Linked DNA regions of Homo sapiens: all the other regions are linked to region 1. The links are contacts of gene promoters, found by promoter capture Hi-C in blood cells and fetal thymus (Javierre and others, 2016). All regions are on one chromosome and are shown on one strand. The core of a region is centred on a gene start or on the middle of the fragment in contact, and the rest is flanking DNA. Distances in the headings are between cores, read along the strand shown.

Region 1 (3,630 bases), core at 575-3,074:
GAGAATTGTTTGAACCCGAGAGGTCGAGGCGATTCTCCCTGCCTCAGCCTCCCGAGTAGCTGGGATTATAGGCACCTGCCACCATATCCGGCTAATTTTTGTATTTTTAGTAGAGATGGGGATTCACCGTGTTAGCCAGGCTGGTCGAGAACTCCTGACCTCAGGTGATCTGCCCGCCTCGGCCTCCCAAAGTGCTGGGGTTACAGGCGTGAGCCATCGCGCTTGGCCGTGAGTGACTTTTAAAAAATGAAAAGACTCCATCAAATCCTCCCTGACCCCAGTTTCCTCTGTTGTGAGCAGTAGAGAAAGGTAAGATTCCAAAATTCCTATTTTTCCACCATACTGGGTTGAAGGGATCTGTGGAGCCACCCTCTGGTAGAGGTAGAACCTTCGAAAAGGGCATTTTTAATCCACAGGGACTCCTCGAGCTCGGCTGGACCTCCGTGGTGCCGTGCTGTGAGACCATCCATCACTCAGGCACTCAGCGAGCCCACATCGGCCCCCAAGAACCCTGATGAAGGTCTTCCTGCCCCCTAGACAGACTTGGGGAGACGGACACCCCAAAAGCGAGAGCTCTTTGAGGTCAAACAGGTGCTCAGGAGCAGGGGTACAAGCAGGCCATCATCTTTTAGTGCTGTGAGGAGGAGTGGGGGGATGAGATGGGGACGCAGGAGGCTGCTCGGCTCCAGAGCCTGCTCCACGGTGGAAGGTGGAGGAGAGTCCAGGGTCCCACGGTCAGTCCCTGCGTGGCCCAGGAAGGTTTAATTCTTTTAAAGAGGAACACTGGACACTTCCCGATATTTTCTTGGTCCCCAGCTCAGGCCGACCCAAGTTCTTGCCTTCCGCCTAGGGAAGACAGGGGAGGACGACGCCATCTTTGGTCTCAGGGCCCAGGTGCGAAGGTCGTTTGGCACCATCTCTCCTGCCTGCCAGATGTGGGCAGGGCCCGTCCGGTTCTTCCCCTTTGCTCTCTCGGCCGTTTCCCCTACACCCGCAGGCCTTCCACAGCTTTTTGAACTGAGGCCCAGGGCCTCGCAGGGGATCTCGAAGGAGCAGCAACTGCACGGTGCTCCTCAGATCCGCGTGCCCGAGGTCACCGGGGAACAAAGAAGTTACTTATTTTTCCTTTTAGCTCAGATGAAGAGAGAGGGCGTTGTCTTCCACAGAAAAACGCTGCGAACTCCGCCCCCGTCCCCCTTTTTCTTGCAGCCCTTCCGTGCGGGTGCAGCTGTTTAAACTAAGGCCCCAAGTCTCCAGCACTTTGTGGAGTGCAGGAAGAACGCGAGCGTACGGGAGAATCTGGGCCGGCGGGGCGCAGCGAGCCGCATCGCAGCTGGAGGACAGCCGGGGTGTGTCTGTGTGTGTTTGCCCGTCGGTTGAAGGCCCCATCGCCCCCGGGTCCCCGCCCTGCCCCAGAAAGCGTTCCCCAAGAGAGCTAGGAGTCCTGCGCACCTGGAGCGCGCTCCGCGTCCACGCCCAGAGGGCGCTGCACACTCGCGCCCGAGGACTGCCTGCCCCCCTTCAGCCCCTCTCCCGGGCTGCGCCTCCGCACTCCGGGCCCGGGCAGAAGGGGGTGCGCCTCGGCCCCACCACCCAGGGAGCAGCCGAGCTGAAAGGCCGGGAACCGCGGCTTGCGGGGACCACAGCTCCCGAAAGCGACGTTCGGCCACCGGAGGAGCGGGAGCCAAGCAGGCAAGAACCTTAGGAGCGGGCCGGGGGTGGGGCGTTCCGAAGGGGCCGGGAGGGGTGGCTGGGGGGCGGGGTCCTGGGGGGTGTGGACTGGGGCTGGCCGGGAGACCTGGCGGAGCTGGGGGTGGGGGGCCAGTTTTTGCAACGGCTAAGGAAGGGCCTGTGGGTTTATTATAAGGCGGAGCTCGGCGGGAGAGGTGCGGGCCGAATCCGAGCCGAGCGGAGAGGAATCCGGCAGTAGAGAGCGGACTCCAGCCGGCGGACCCTGCAGCCCTCGCCTGGGACAGCGGCGCGCTGGGCAGGCGCCCAAGAGAGCATCGAGCAGCGGAACCCGCGAAGCCGGCCCGCAGCCGCGACCCGCGCAGCCTGCCGCTCTCCCGCCGCCGGTCCGGGCAGCATGAGGCGCGCGGCGCTCTGGCTCTGGCTGTGCGCGCTGGCGCTGAGCCTGCAGCCGGCCCTGCCGGTGAGTGCGGCCGGCGGCCAGGCGGGGAGGCGGCGGGAAGCCGGGACTGGTCACCCGCGGATGCCGGCGGGTGCACGTGGAGGGGGAGGGGGAGCGAAGACTTCCCTTCTTCCCGCGCTAGCCCAGCGGGTCCCGGGACGGTGAGCCCCGAGACCAGGGCTCCAGCCCCAATTTCCTCCGCTGTCGGTGGGTGCCGCACCGGTCCCGCGCTGGGGAGGGTGGGGGGCCGGGGCCCCGCGCTCAATTATGTAAAACGTCTCCACATCTGTCGGAGCCCGCCAGCCCACAGCGGCGCCCGGGGTCGCCCGTTCCCACCCTCCTCGCCCCGGCCACCGCGGCGGCCGGGCCCCCGTCGGTGACCCGGGGGGATGCAGTGACCGCGGCCACAACGCCCCCCCTGCAGACCCTAATTCAAACCAGACCCGCGGGCTTGCGCCCCAGCGCCGCCGAGCCCGGGCGCCCCGCCCCTTGCGCCAGGGCAAGTTTGGGCGCAGCGCGGCCGGCGCGGGAGCGGGAGGCGGCCGCGTTGGCCCGGGGAGCCGGGCCAGGGCTGCGTGGGGGGCGCGGGCGAGCGTCTGCAGGGCCCTCGGGCTTGCCGTGGGCGGCTCGAGGTGAGCTGAGCCGGCCCGGCAGCGGGAGGTTCCGGGAAGTTGGCCTCGGAACGCTGGAGACCCGGAGGAGCCCAACTTCTGGGCTGCTGAAGTTGAGCTGGCCCCGGAGGGCGCGTTCCCGTGCCGGGCACGGCCGAGGCGCAGGCGCCTTCCACGCGAGGGGACCCGGGAATGGCCTCCCGCTCCCCGGCTCGGCTTTGTGCTGAAGCCGCGCGGAGGGAAGGCGGGTCCCTTGGCCCGCCCAGTGCAGCTGGGAGAAAAGAGGGGCAGATGTGGAGCTCGGGGCTGTAAGAGGCCTTTGGGTGGGATGCAGCATCCACCTTCAGCGGGGCTGACGCTCCACTAAAGAGGGACGTGGCCGACAAAGAGCAGCCTGAGGGTCCCCAGAAAGTGGCTCTCCCGCCCCGGCCACCGGCCGCTAGCCCGCCTTCCCCAATGGGGGCGCTTTGTTCTCGGCCCCTGTAACCCTTTCCTGGGAACAGCCCCGTAACGCCGGCCTTGACGGGGGCTGGGACCTGGGCCGCAGCCAGGTGTCAGCGCGGGCCGCCCGGTGCCCGAGTCTGCCGCCCGAGTTCGCCTCCCCAGCCCCCGCGCCCGGTGCTGGCGTCCCGGGGTCCCTCCTGCGGGCCGGCTCGGCCATCCCCAGGGATGCAGAGGGGAGGTGCGGAGCCAGGGGCGCTTCCCCTTCCGGAAGTGGCGGTGTCTCGCCACTACATCTGGACAGTTCGACTTCCCCAGCTCTGGCAAAGGGAGGCACGTGGGCAGGGAAGGGGCGGGGGCGGGGTGGGCACTCGGGTTCTCCACTGCTAATGTGGCATCTGGACAAGTCTCAGCAGCGCTGACCCTCCGTAAGCGTTGCCTCGTGTA
Region 2 (3,630 bases), core at 619-3,118, 220 kb after region 1:
ATAATGAAATTGAGATGGACAGAAGGGAAAAAACTTACCTATGTCACAGGGTCTCTTAGTGAAAGAGCCAAGACCGGAGGGTTGGTTCCCAACTCCCAGCTGCCCCTCCCTTGTTTCATTAGCTCTGTGTGTGTGTGTGTGTGTGTGTGTGTGTGTATAACTGTAAGTGGCGTGGCCCACAATTATTTCTGCCATGCTCTGCATGCATTTACATTTGTCCCAATCATCTTTTGATAGCTCTTGATAGGTGTGCTCTTAACACCCACGGATGTGAGCACATCTGTGTGAATGACAGAAGTGGCTCTTATCATTGTGAGTGCTATGAAGGTTATACCTTGAATGAAGACAGGAAAACTTGTTCAGGTAAGTGAGGGAGGAGTCTTTACTATTGCTACTTAGCTCTCTGCCTACCTACCCGGTGATGGAAGGGCAGGTCACATTGACTGGGAAGTTGGTGTGTTTTCCTCTCTTGCCACCTTGAGCTTTTCCCATTTTTAAGTCTTATCCAAAATGTTAGAAATGGTAACATGTATGTATCTCGGCCCAAATACATAAATATGTTGCTCATTTCCTTCTCTGTAGCCAGCCTGAACAATCCTTCCCAAATGCTACAGACAATTCAGTAGGTTGAAATCACATAACAACCCACAAGTTACCTGTTGCTTACAAAGGGAAAGACAGTAACTTTATAGTGGAGAAACTGGCAGACATCACCTTAACTAAGTGATCAAAGTTAACATCATCAGTGATGACACATAGTGACATCATGTATGACCTGACATGCTGTGCTCAATACTGTGGACACAACAGCACACCTGTAGTATTCTTGCTAAAAATTCAGGATTATGAGGAAAGATTAGAAAAACCTGAGAGACACTCTCAGTTCACAAAATAGTTTTCCAGTACTTCTCAGAAACGTGAAAGTCATAAAAGACAAAGAAAGACTTAGGAAGTGTCCCAGGTTGGAGAGGACGGAGATGTGAAACTGAATGCAATGTGGAATCCTGGATTGGATCCTGGACCAGAAAAAGGACATTAATGGCAACATTTGAATAAAGTCTGTAGATTAGTAAATCATATTATATCAATGTTAATTTCTGGTTTGATAATCATACTATGGTTATGTAAATTACTGTTTGGGGAAACAGGGTGAAGTACAGGAATTTTTTGCACTGTTTTTGCAACCTTTTCATAAATCTGAAATTATCTCAGATGAAAAGTTTAAAAGTAAAAAATAGTTTAAAAATATATCAGTAGAGAGGAAAGTGCATTGAATGAAAATGTGTGTCTTGAGTTTTTATGCTGCTCTGAATCAAATGGTCTCCCTCGCGCTCCTTTCCCTCATTTAAAAAATAGGAGAGGGTTGAACTACAATTTCTTCAAACTCTAATTCTATGTTTTTCTGAATCTAATGTAATTAGCCACACAACTGTTGGTATCCCGCTGAGTTGGGATAAGTACAATAAGCCTAAAAGGAATGCTAGAAAGTATTTATGAGATACTTAGGTTATAAAAACTCAATACTGATGATTTCCAAAAGCAATTGTGGAAGGTCAGAGAATAATTATTGTATGTGCAGGATTTCACTTAACTCAGTTAACTTCTAGTTAGAAAAAAACAGTGCCAATGGCTTTGAATAGTTTCCAGTAAGTTTTCCTCATATGTTTCCAGCTGCAAATAAGGTTTCTATCCTGGGTAATAAAATACTTTTCCACCTTCTATTTCTTTTCTCCTGACTTTTTGTTTCACAGCTCAAGATAAATGTGCTTTGGGTACCCATGGGTGTCAGCACATTTGTGTGAATGACAGAACAGGGTCCCATCATTGTGAATGCTATGAGGGCTACACTCTGAATGCAGATAAAAAAACATGTTCAGGTAAGATCCACTCAAAAAATTCTTTCATACTTGGGTCTTTCACATGAAACCAACTTGCAACTCACCAGCAAAGAGGTTTTTAAAGGTAACTTAAGATCAAGGTTCAGACATTCTATCACACTTTTAGATGAAGGCACACATTGCTCAGAGGGTGGTGAGCTCACTGGAGCAAACATAGATTACTTCAGAAAATTACTGGGAAATAGGTAGGGAGTGGGGGATATGAGAAAAACTAACTAAATGTAGGGTCCTTATCCAGGAAAATTTTATAGCTCTGTACACTGAAGACTTTTAAGCAAAGAGAAAACTTTAGTGGAAGTCAGTTGGACAGTAACTATTTGGTGTGATAGGATGAACTGATCTTTTTCCAGTTAAAACTTGGCCTGGAACTTTTCTGTAGTGTTAATCTTAAAGCTGGATGATTTTAGTAAAGAAGACTTTGTGAATGCCTGAATTAGACCCACACAGATCTTCCAGTAAGTTTGAGGCCAGTCACTCCCTGGCAGTTTCTAGACGATCAATCATTGGTGAAACTCAGCCTTATACGTTGGCCAATGAGCCCAGGCCAGTGCTGTTAATCCTCATTAATTTGATTTAAACTTACTGGCAGGACAGGGTGGCATTTATAAATGTAAAAACACTCCTGAGAGAAATTCCAAGCTCTCAAGGTGCCGTTTAGCTTTGGCATATTGAATGTGTTTTAGATTTGACATATATTTTCCTCTCCCTTGAGGACATACAGACTTCATCAAGATAGACAAAGGGAAATGGCATGTCACCCAGTCCCCTCTTTTTTTTTTTTTTTTTTTTTTTTAAAGGGAAACCAGTAAAAAAATACCGGACACCTACTTTGTTCCCAGTATGGAACTAAGCATTGGGAGCATACAAAGAAGCCTAAGTTTCTGCCTCTGAGCAAGTTAAATCTGGGTGAACAGAGAGCCGGCTCCTTATGAAAGCAGAGACTGAGCCAGGGAGAGGGACTGATGGAAACAAAGGGCTGTAGAGGCTGGGGAGGTGGGCATCTGCGAAGGGCTGGTGGTGGGCCTTGAAGGAGGGTGAAGGTTTCAATGGAGACAAGTGGAAAGTGGCACTGGCGGGGGACTGGCTTGAGCTGATTTGTTCAGGGCAGGATGACTAAGAAAGTTGGGGTGGAGAGAACTCACCTATGGCTGCACTTCTCAAACTAGTGACAAGTGTCCCAGTTGGTACTTTAAGCTGCCAGGAACATTGAAGACCTGGGAAAACAAACCAAAAACAAATTTCCATTTAAACTAACAGATAGTATGGAATAAAGTGAAGCAATCTATTTTAAAAAAAAACATAAATCAAAGAAAATTTTCAGTTAAGGCAGACAACACTCCCAGATGCCAGTATTCCATATTCTTCAATACCTACTGTAGGCCATGCAGGATTCTAGGCATTTTAGATACAGTAATGTACCTTAATACTCACAGCAACGTTAGGAGGAAACTGATTCAGTAACTTGCCCATGGTTACTCTGCTAGCAAGTAGCAGACCCAGGGTTTGAACCCAGGTACTTCCTCTAGTGGTTACATAGGCTCTTAACCACTAAGCCTTACTGTCTTAATGTACAAAGCACAGGACAGTGAAGAGGGACAGAAGAGAAAGAATACTAGTGGGAAAGTTAGTTATATATATATATATTTTTTTTTCTTCTCTTTTTTGAGACAGGGTCTCATTCTGTCACCCAGGCTGGAGTGCGGTGGTGTGATCTTGGCTCATACAGCCTCTA
Region 3 (3,630 bases), core at 655-3,154, 200 kb after region 1:
ACCTGTTGTTTCTTGGCTTTTTAATGATCACCATTCTAACTGGTGTGAGATGGTATCTCATTGTGGTTTTGATTTGCATTTCTCTGATGGCCAGTGATGGTGAGCATTTTTTCATGTGTTTTTTGGCTGCATAAATGTCTTCTTTTGAGAAGTGTCCGTTCATGTCCTTGGCCCACTTTTTGATGGGGTTGTTTTTTTCTTGTAAATTTGTTTGAGTTCATCGTAGATTCTGGATATTAGCCCTTTGTCAGATGAGTAGGTTGCGAAAATTTTCTCCCATTTTGTAGGTTGCCTTTTCACTCTGATGGTAGTTTTTTTTGCTGTGCAGAAGCTCTTTAGTTTAATTAGATCCCATTTGTCAATTTTGGCTTTTGTTGCCACTGCTTTTGGTGTTTTAGACATGAAGTCCTTGCCCATGCCTATGTCCTGAATGGTAATGCCTAGGTTTTCTTCTAGGGTTTTTATGGTTTTAGGTCTAACATTTAAGTCTTTAATCCATCTTGAATTAATTTTTGTATAAGGTGTAAGGAAGGGATCCAGTTTCAGCTTTCTACATATGGCTAGCCAGTTTTCCCAGCACCATTTATTAAATAGAGAATCCTTTCCCCATTGCTTGTTTTTCTCAGGTTTGTCAAAGATCAGATAGTTGTAGATATGCGGCGTTATTTCTGAGGGCTCTGTTCTGTAGAACAACTACAATTTAATAAAAGTTATCTGAATGTGGTTTCCCTCTCTGTATCTCTCTCAAAACATCTTATACTGTACCTACCTTTCTTCTTGTGATCTGTTGATCTGATAACCAAGATGATTACGAAGTGCCCAATAGGTGGGTAATACATGCAGGCAGCGTGGATGCACTGGACAAAGGAGTGAGTCATGTCCAGGGCAGTACAGAGCAGGACAGTGTGAGAGTTTATCATGCTACTCAGAATGGCATGCAATTTAAAACTTATAAATTATTTTTTTAAAGCCTATGGATTATTTACTTCTGGAATTTTCCATTCAGTATTTTTGGACTGTAGTCCCCCACAGATAACTGAAACTTTGAAAAGTAAAACCACAGATAACCGGGGACTAGTATATCTGTTATCATTTGGTTAGGTTGCATCAGAGAACTTGATTTATATTCCTGGCCCTCCCACCAATTATATGAATTCAGTAAGTAATTCAGATTGCAAATGAGATTGTACATTCCTTCTTCCTCTGACCTTCTGTGACTCACTTTTGGTTAAACAGTTAATTATCTTTTATTATTATTTTTTAGAGACAGGGTCTTTATCACCCAGGCTGTAGTGCAATGGTGCAATTATAGCTCACTGCAGCCTCAATTTCCTGTCCTCAAGCAATCCTCCCTCCTTGGTCTCCCAAAGTGCTGAGATTACAAGTGTGAGCCACCACATCCAGCCAGTTCATGATCTTTTAAAGATAAAAAGATAATTTAAAAAACTACATAGGTACCCTCTTAGTTACCATTTTTGGTGTTCTTCATTCCCTTGTGTAGATACATATTTCCATCTGGTATAATTTTTCTTCTTTCAGAAAGACTTTAACATTTTTTACAGTGTGGTTCTGCTGGTGATAAGTTCTTTTGGGTTTTGTATATCTAAAAATATTTTTACTCACTTTGGGAGGTTAAGGCGGGCAGATCATGAGGTCAGGAGTTTGAGACCAGACTGACCAACATGGTGAAACCCCATCTCTACTAAAAATACAAAAAGTAGCCGGGCATGGTGGTGCGGGCCTGTAATCCCAGCTACTCAGGAGGCTGAGGCAGGAGAATTGCTTGAACCCAGGAGGCGGAGGTTGCAGTGAGCCAAGATCGCTCCACTGCACTCCAGCCTGGGCAACAGAGCAAGACACCATCTCAAAAAAAAAAAAAATTACCTTTGTTTTTCAAAAGCTATCTTCCCTGGATGTAGAATTCTAAGTGGACCTTTTTTTGGTTTATTTTTGTTTTTTTTCTTTCAGCACTTTAAAGATATTGCTTCACTGTCTTCTTGAACACATTGTTTCTAATGAGAAATTTACTGTCATCCTTGACTTTCTCTGTATGGAACATTTTTTTTCTTTGGGTAATGAACATTTTCTCTTATAGCCCTGATTTTGAACAATTTGTTTATGATGTTCCTCGATGCTGGCTTTTTGTTTTTTCACATTTGTTGCATTTGAGGTTCATTGAGATTCTTAAATCTGTAGGTTTATAGATTTCATCATGTTTGGAAAAATTTCAGTCATTATCTCTTCAAATATTTTCTCTGTCCTCTCTTCTCCCTCCTTCAGGGATCCTGTCTGGCTGGAAAAGGGAAGATAAACTTCCTACAGTGAGCAGATTTGAGATAGGTCTTGAGAGTTGGTTAGGACTTGAACTGGTAGAGATGTCAATCAAAGACTTCGCAACTTAATATGAAAGGATCAAGAGAGGAAGGAGGTCATCAAGATTTCTTTCATGCCTGTCTGGCCAGAGGAATAGTGGAATAAATGGGGAATAAAGGACAGTGAGCTTTTTTAAAAAAGAGGAAGATGAGTTCATTCTTGGTTATGATTGAGCATGACGTACTTTTGTGACCTTTAAATAGAGGAGTACAAAAGCGAGTTACAAATGTAGTTTTATTGCTCAGGAGTAGGTTGGGACAAGAGACTCTGATCTGGAAATTAGCAATATAGAGGTGGTAGCTGAAACAACGCTGGTAGTTGAGACTCCTAACATAGATGGTACACAAAGTATCAAGACCTAGTCATTTCAGCCCTTCCATTTCTAGTAATTTCTTCTAGGGAGATAATAGTAATTCACAAAGATTCATGAAAAAAGGTTCAGTGAAGCACAGCTTGCAATTAAAAACAAGTAGAAACTACATGTCCCACAATGGAAAATTGGTTAAGTAAATGAAATATACAGTGAAATACAGTACAGTCATTACAAATGTTGTATTTGAAGAATATAACAGAAAAGTGTTCACTATATGTTAAGTACAGAAAGCAAGTTATAACCCTACAACATAGCATGGTCTCATTTTTAATAAAAATGGATGCATATATAAGCAGAGACAAAAGAGGTAACACCACATAGCTTATCTTTGGGTGGTAGTCTATGGATGGTCTTTCCATTCTTTTGCTTATCTACAGTTTCTACATTCTGTATAGTAAAGTATATGTTACTTTTATACTAAGAAAAAAATCGATTTTCCTTTTTAAAAGCTGATTTAGAAAAAAGCCTGTGGACTTCCACACTTCATAGAGCATGGAAAGAAGAAAAGGAAGTGGCAAATGAGAGAGACAGTGTAGAATCAGGACTATAGGACAACCTGGGATGAAGGGGCTAACACTGGAGCTCCTGCCAAAAACAGGGTGATCTAAACTCTACCAAGAGGCCTCTGGGCTTGGTGATCTGAGCCATTATGCACTTAGGAGAGCACTTTCCTTAGGATAGTGCAGGGGAGGAAGGAAGAGCACTTTCCCCAGGATGGTACAGGGGAGGCAGTAAGAAATGGGTTAAGAAGTGATAGCTGTTGAGAAGTGTGGTGTGGAGAGAAGGAGGTGGGAGGATAGTCACTCATTGGCCCCAGATGTTTCATGACCCCAGATCCAGATGCTCAGCAAGTCCCATTCATAACAAAGACATGGGGCCACTGT
Region 4 (3,630 bases), core at 312-2,811, 140 kb after region 1:
TTCTTTCCTTCCTCAGCAAAAAGGGCCCTTGAGTCCCACAAATGTAGTGTGACCATTGTCCTTGGGGGAAACTGTAGTTATTAACTCATAAAAGATTGTGTATAGACCCGTGTAATGAGGAATGTCTGAGTTGTCACCAAAGCTGCTGGGAATTTGTGTGGGGTAGGAGGTGGCGAGGGGTGTATGTGCAGGGACAATGTGGAAAGAAGGGAAGAAAAGAGCTTCCGAAGTGTGGAGGAGGAGGAGGGACAACCCTGGGCCTTCACGTGGCTTGTTCCTGGGGTGAGGCGGTCACTGCCCAGGCATTTCACACCGGCCGTTATGAGGGCTTCTCGAAAGCTTTTTCTTCAGGAAAATGAAAATACATAAACACCACAGATATGCTCACAGATAATTGTACTACATTGTTCGGAAGTAAAAGAACTGTTTCTAAAAAAATAAAAATATTATAAACACCACCTAATCAACACGTTGAAATTAATAGCTGAACTGTGTGAGTGCATACTGTCAGCAAGCTATGGACATGTTGCCCTCCATGAGCTGGCGCTCCAGTGTGCTTGGGGAGGCCATCCCAGGCGGAGAGGGCTTCTTTGAGGGGGTGCAGGCTGAACAGAGGGAGGAAGCCGAGGGGCTGCTTTCATGAGGCACTTGGTGGGAGGCAGGATCAGGAATAGCACTTTTCTTCCTCATTTACACGGAGGCAGAGCACCATCACTGCTCTGGCCATGGGGAGTGGACCTTGGCGGCTTTCAGGTGATCACATCACCGAGAGTCCTTCAGGAAACTTGAAGAGCAATGGGCACTGGCTGGGGAGGCCAGACCAAGAGAGGATACCAGGAGTGCCAGGACATCTGTGGTGGACCAATGGGCTCGGGAACTCTTGGGGTCCCCTTTTGAAGATGCCCAGAAAATAACCAAGAGGTCAAACACAGGCTGCAGAGGTACTGAGGGTCTGCCTCCTGCTAATAGGAACTCAGAGTCACTGATATTTGGGCTATCAGTTCAAAAGAATCTTTTCTGCTCTGTTCTGATAAAAACAGGCGCTAGCAGCTATCTCAAAAGGCCAACCTTATGTTCCACAAGAATGATGTTATCTGCAGGAGTGATTGGAAAAGTTGTGTATCTTGTGACCTCCGGAATAATGGCTGGCAATAATTTATGTCTACACCTTAGCAGAATTTAGGCTCCTCTCCTCCCCCTAACCTGGTGGTCTCTCATTAGCTTTACAAAGGTGGTTGAGTTTTGGGGGAAGGGCTATTATTTAAACTATAAATTATTGTCTTCCAAAGCTAGCCCTAAGCCTATGAATAATGAAGTCAGCTTGAAGGCAAGAGTGGGGTTGGTAGATCAGATCTCTGCCATTGCCATAATGTTCTCACTGTTATCATTTTTGCAAAGGTGGTTTTACTTCTACATACTCTCTAAAAGAATTCACCAGATCCTTGAAATTTATCCAGGGACTGCAGGTGAAGAACAACAAAGCTAGAGAAAAGGGTGTTTGGTAATCCTGATTCTAATGAAAAAATTAAACTTCATATTGAAGTTAATCTTGTTCAAAAGTTATCATGTCTTAGGGGAAGTAGTGCAAAATGCAGAAGTAGTTTAAACATCCATCAGAAGGGTCCTCACTCTACCAGGACAGGACATTTACTCCCCAGTCTGTGTGTGACACTTTCAGCTGCAATAAGAACTTCTTTCACCAGAGTAAATTCAACAAAGGTTTGTTTTTAAAAAAATACAAACAAACCCAGGCTATTTGATTCTAAAGCCTGTGGTTTTTTATCCCCCCATTATACCACAGGTACCAAACTAGACAGATGTTTAAGTTATTTAATAACTATGATTAAATTGTTGAACTATAATCAAAGGATGTAATTTAAAAAGAAAATTGTTGCATTCAAATTCCCAACACTATGCTGAAGCGAAAGTTAAGAAAAAGAACTTTGTATTCTGGTCAAGGAAGAGGGAGTTGGAGACAGGCAGCAACTAGAAACAAGGCAGTCAGTGATCAAAGGGGAGAACCTTAAATGCAGTCCAAGGACAGGACAGGCAGCCTGCATGGCTTTCTAGCAGAGACCATGGCTGGAGAAAGGAGGCTAGGGAAGGTTGGTAGGTGGGAGAAGCGTGTCACTTTAAGTGTGTCACTTCTTCCTACCAAGTCTGAGGTTTCCTGTCTGGGCCATAAAGGGGTAAGAACAGATCTTCCTAAAAGCCTTCCCAACTCTATGTTCCATGACTGTCCAAGGGAATAGCATAGGCAAAAGCTGTGAGGCTGGATTGAACCACAATGAATTAGTTGTTTGTCTAGGAGTCCTGTCCACTTAGAAAAGTAGATGCATTCCAGGAGATTACAGGGGAAAGGCTAAGACTCCTCAGATGCGAAAATGATTAACCTTGGTGCTGAAGACAGTGGGAGCCATTGTAGGTCCTAGAGGAAAGACGTAGGAACATGATTAATCCAAACAGCTAAGGATGGAATGAGGAGGGAATGGAAATCTGTACGTGCACTGTGTTGAGTATTTTCTATTTGCCTCTCTGCCCAGATCTATTCTATGCCCTGCTCTGTGCCAAGGACCCCCTGATGATTACATCAAGGGACTCTGTCTTAGTCTGTTTTCTTTTGCTGTGACAGAATACCACAGACTGGGTAATTTATAAAGAAAAGAAGTTAGGCCAGGCGCAGTGGCTCACGCGTGTAATCCCAGCACTTTGTGAGGCCAAGGCGGGCAAATCACCTGAGGTCAGTAGTTCAAGAATAGCTCTGCCAACATGGTGAAAGCTTGTCTCTACAAAAATACAAAGATTAATTGGGCATGATGGCGGGTGCCTGTAATCCCAGCTACTGGGGAGGCTGAGGCAGGATAATTGCTTGAACCCGGTTTCATGTGCGTCCGTGTGAAGAGACCACCAAACAGGCTTTGTGCGAGCAATAAAGCTTTTTAATCACCTGGGTGCAGGCAGGCTGAGTCCGAAAAGAGAGTTAGTGAAGGGAGATAGGGGTGGGGCTGTTTTATAGGATTTGGGTGGGTAGTGGAAAATTACAGTCAAAGGGGGTTTTTCTCTTACAGGCAGGGGTGGGGGTCACAGGGTGCTCAGTGGGGGAGGTTTTGAGCCAGGAGAAGGAATCTCACAAGTTTAATTGCTCAGTTAAGGTGGGGCAGGAACAAATCACAATGGGGGAATATCATCAGTTAAGGCAGGAACTGGCCATTTTCACTTCTTTTGTGATTCTTCACTTGCTTCGGGCCATCTGGACATATACGTGCAGGTCACAGGGGATATGATGGCTTAGCTTGGGCTCAGAGGCCTGACATTCCTGCCTTCTTATATTAATAAGAAAAATAACATAAAATAGTATTGAAGTGTTGGGGCAGCAAAAATCCTTGGAGGTGGTATGGAGAGATAATGGGCGATATTTCTCAGGGCGGGATTAGGGGCAGCGTGGGAACCTAGAGTGGGAGAGATTAAGTTGAAGGAAGATTTTGTGGTAAGGGGTGATATTGTGGGGTTGTTAGAAGGAGCGTTTGTCATATAGAATGATTGGTGATGGCCTGGATGCGGTTTTGGATGAATTGAGAAACTAAACGGAAGCTACAGGGTCCAAATAAAAGAAGGAGAAAAATAGGTATT

The links. The method cuts DNA at HindIII sites, captures the fragments that hold promoters and counts their contacts. A CHiCAGO score of 5 or more calls a contact.
Region 2: a contact is called between a fragment that was not itself captured here and the fragment with the promoter of SDC1 in region 1, in 1 of 17 cell types (M0 macrophages). The highest score is 5.3, in M0 macrophages.
Region 3: a fragment that was not itself captured here is called in contact with the fragment with the promoter of SDC1 in region 1 in 1 of 17 cell types (M0 macrophages); the score reaches 5.5 in M0 macrophages.
Region 4: a contact is called between a fragment that was not itself captured here and the fragment with the promoter of SDC1 in region 1, in 1 of 17 cell types (M0 macrophages). The highest score is 5.6, in M0 macrophages.

The regions. Positions count from the first base shown.
Region 1 is chr2:20,223,324-20,226,953 of GRCh38, reverse strand. SDC1 (syndecan 1) reads left to right here and starts at 1,824. Exons shown (of 5, transcript NM_002997.5): 1 at 1,824-2,152. The coding sequence starts at 2,087. RefSeq lists enhancers at 497-1,176, 1,177-1,856, 3,616-3,630 and silencers at 1,408-1,787, 1,848-2,267, 2,308-2,367, 2,388-2,847, 3,258-3,457. The HindIII fragment of the contact is 9,225 bases long and covers 1-3,630 here.
Region 2 is chr2:19,998,688-20,002,317 of GRCh38, reverse strand. It overlaps MATN3 (matrilin 3), which reads left to right. Exons shown (of 8, transcript NM_002381.5): 4 at 238-363; 5 at 1,752-1,877. It overlaps WDR35-DT (WDR35 divergent transcript), which reads right to left. Exons shown (of 3, transcript NR_110235.1): 2 at 3,041-3,112. Among named protein-coding and RNA genes, the nearest start is that of WDR35-DT, 10 kb to the right of the region's middle. The HindIII fragment of the contact is 3,780 bases long and covers 1-3,630 here.
Region 3 is chr2:20,022,818-20,026,447 of GRCh38, reverse strand. No RefSeq gene overlaps it. Among named protein-coding and RNA genes, the nearest start is that of MATN3, 12 kb to the right of the region's middle. The HindIII fragment of the contact is 7,557 bases long and covers 1-3,630 here.
Region 4 is chr2:20,087,375-20,091,004 of GRCh38, reverse strand. The region is part of intron 2 of LAPTM4A-DT (LAPTM4A divergent transcript); the gene reads right to left. Among named protein-coding and RNA genes, the nearest start is that of LAPTM4A-DT, 37 kb to the right of the region's middle. The HindIII fragment of the contact is 2,440 bases long and covers 342-2,781 here.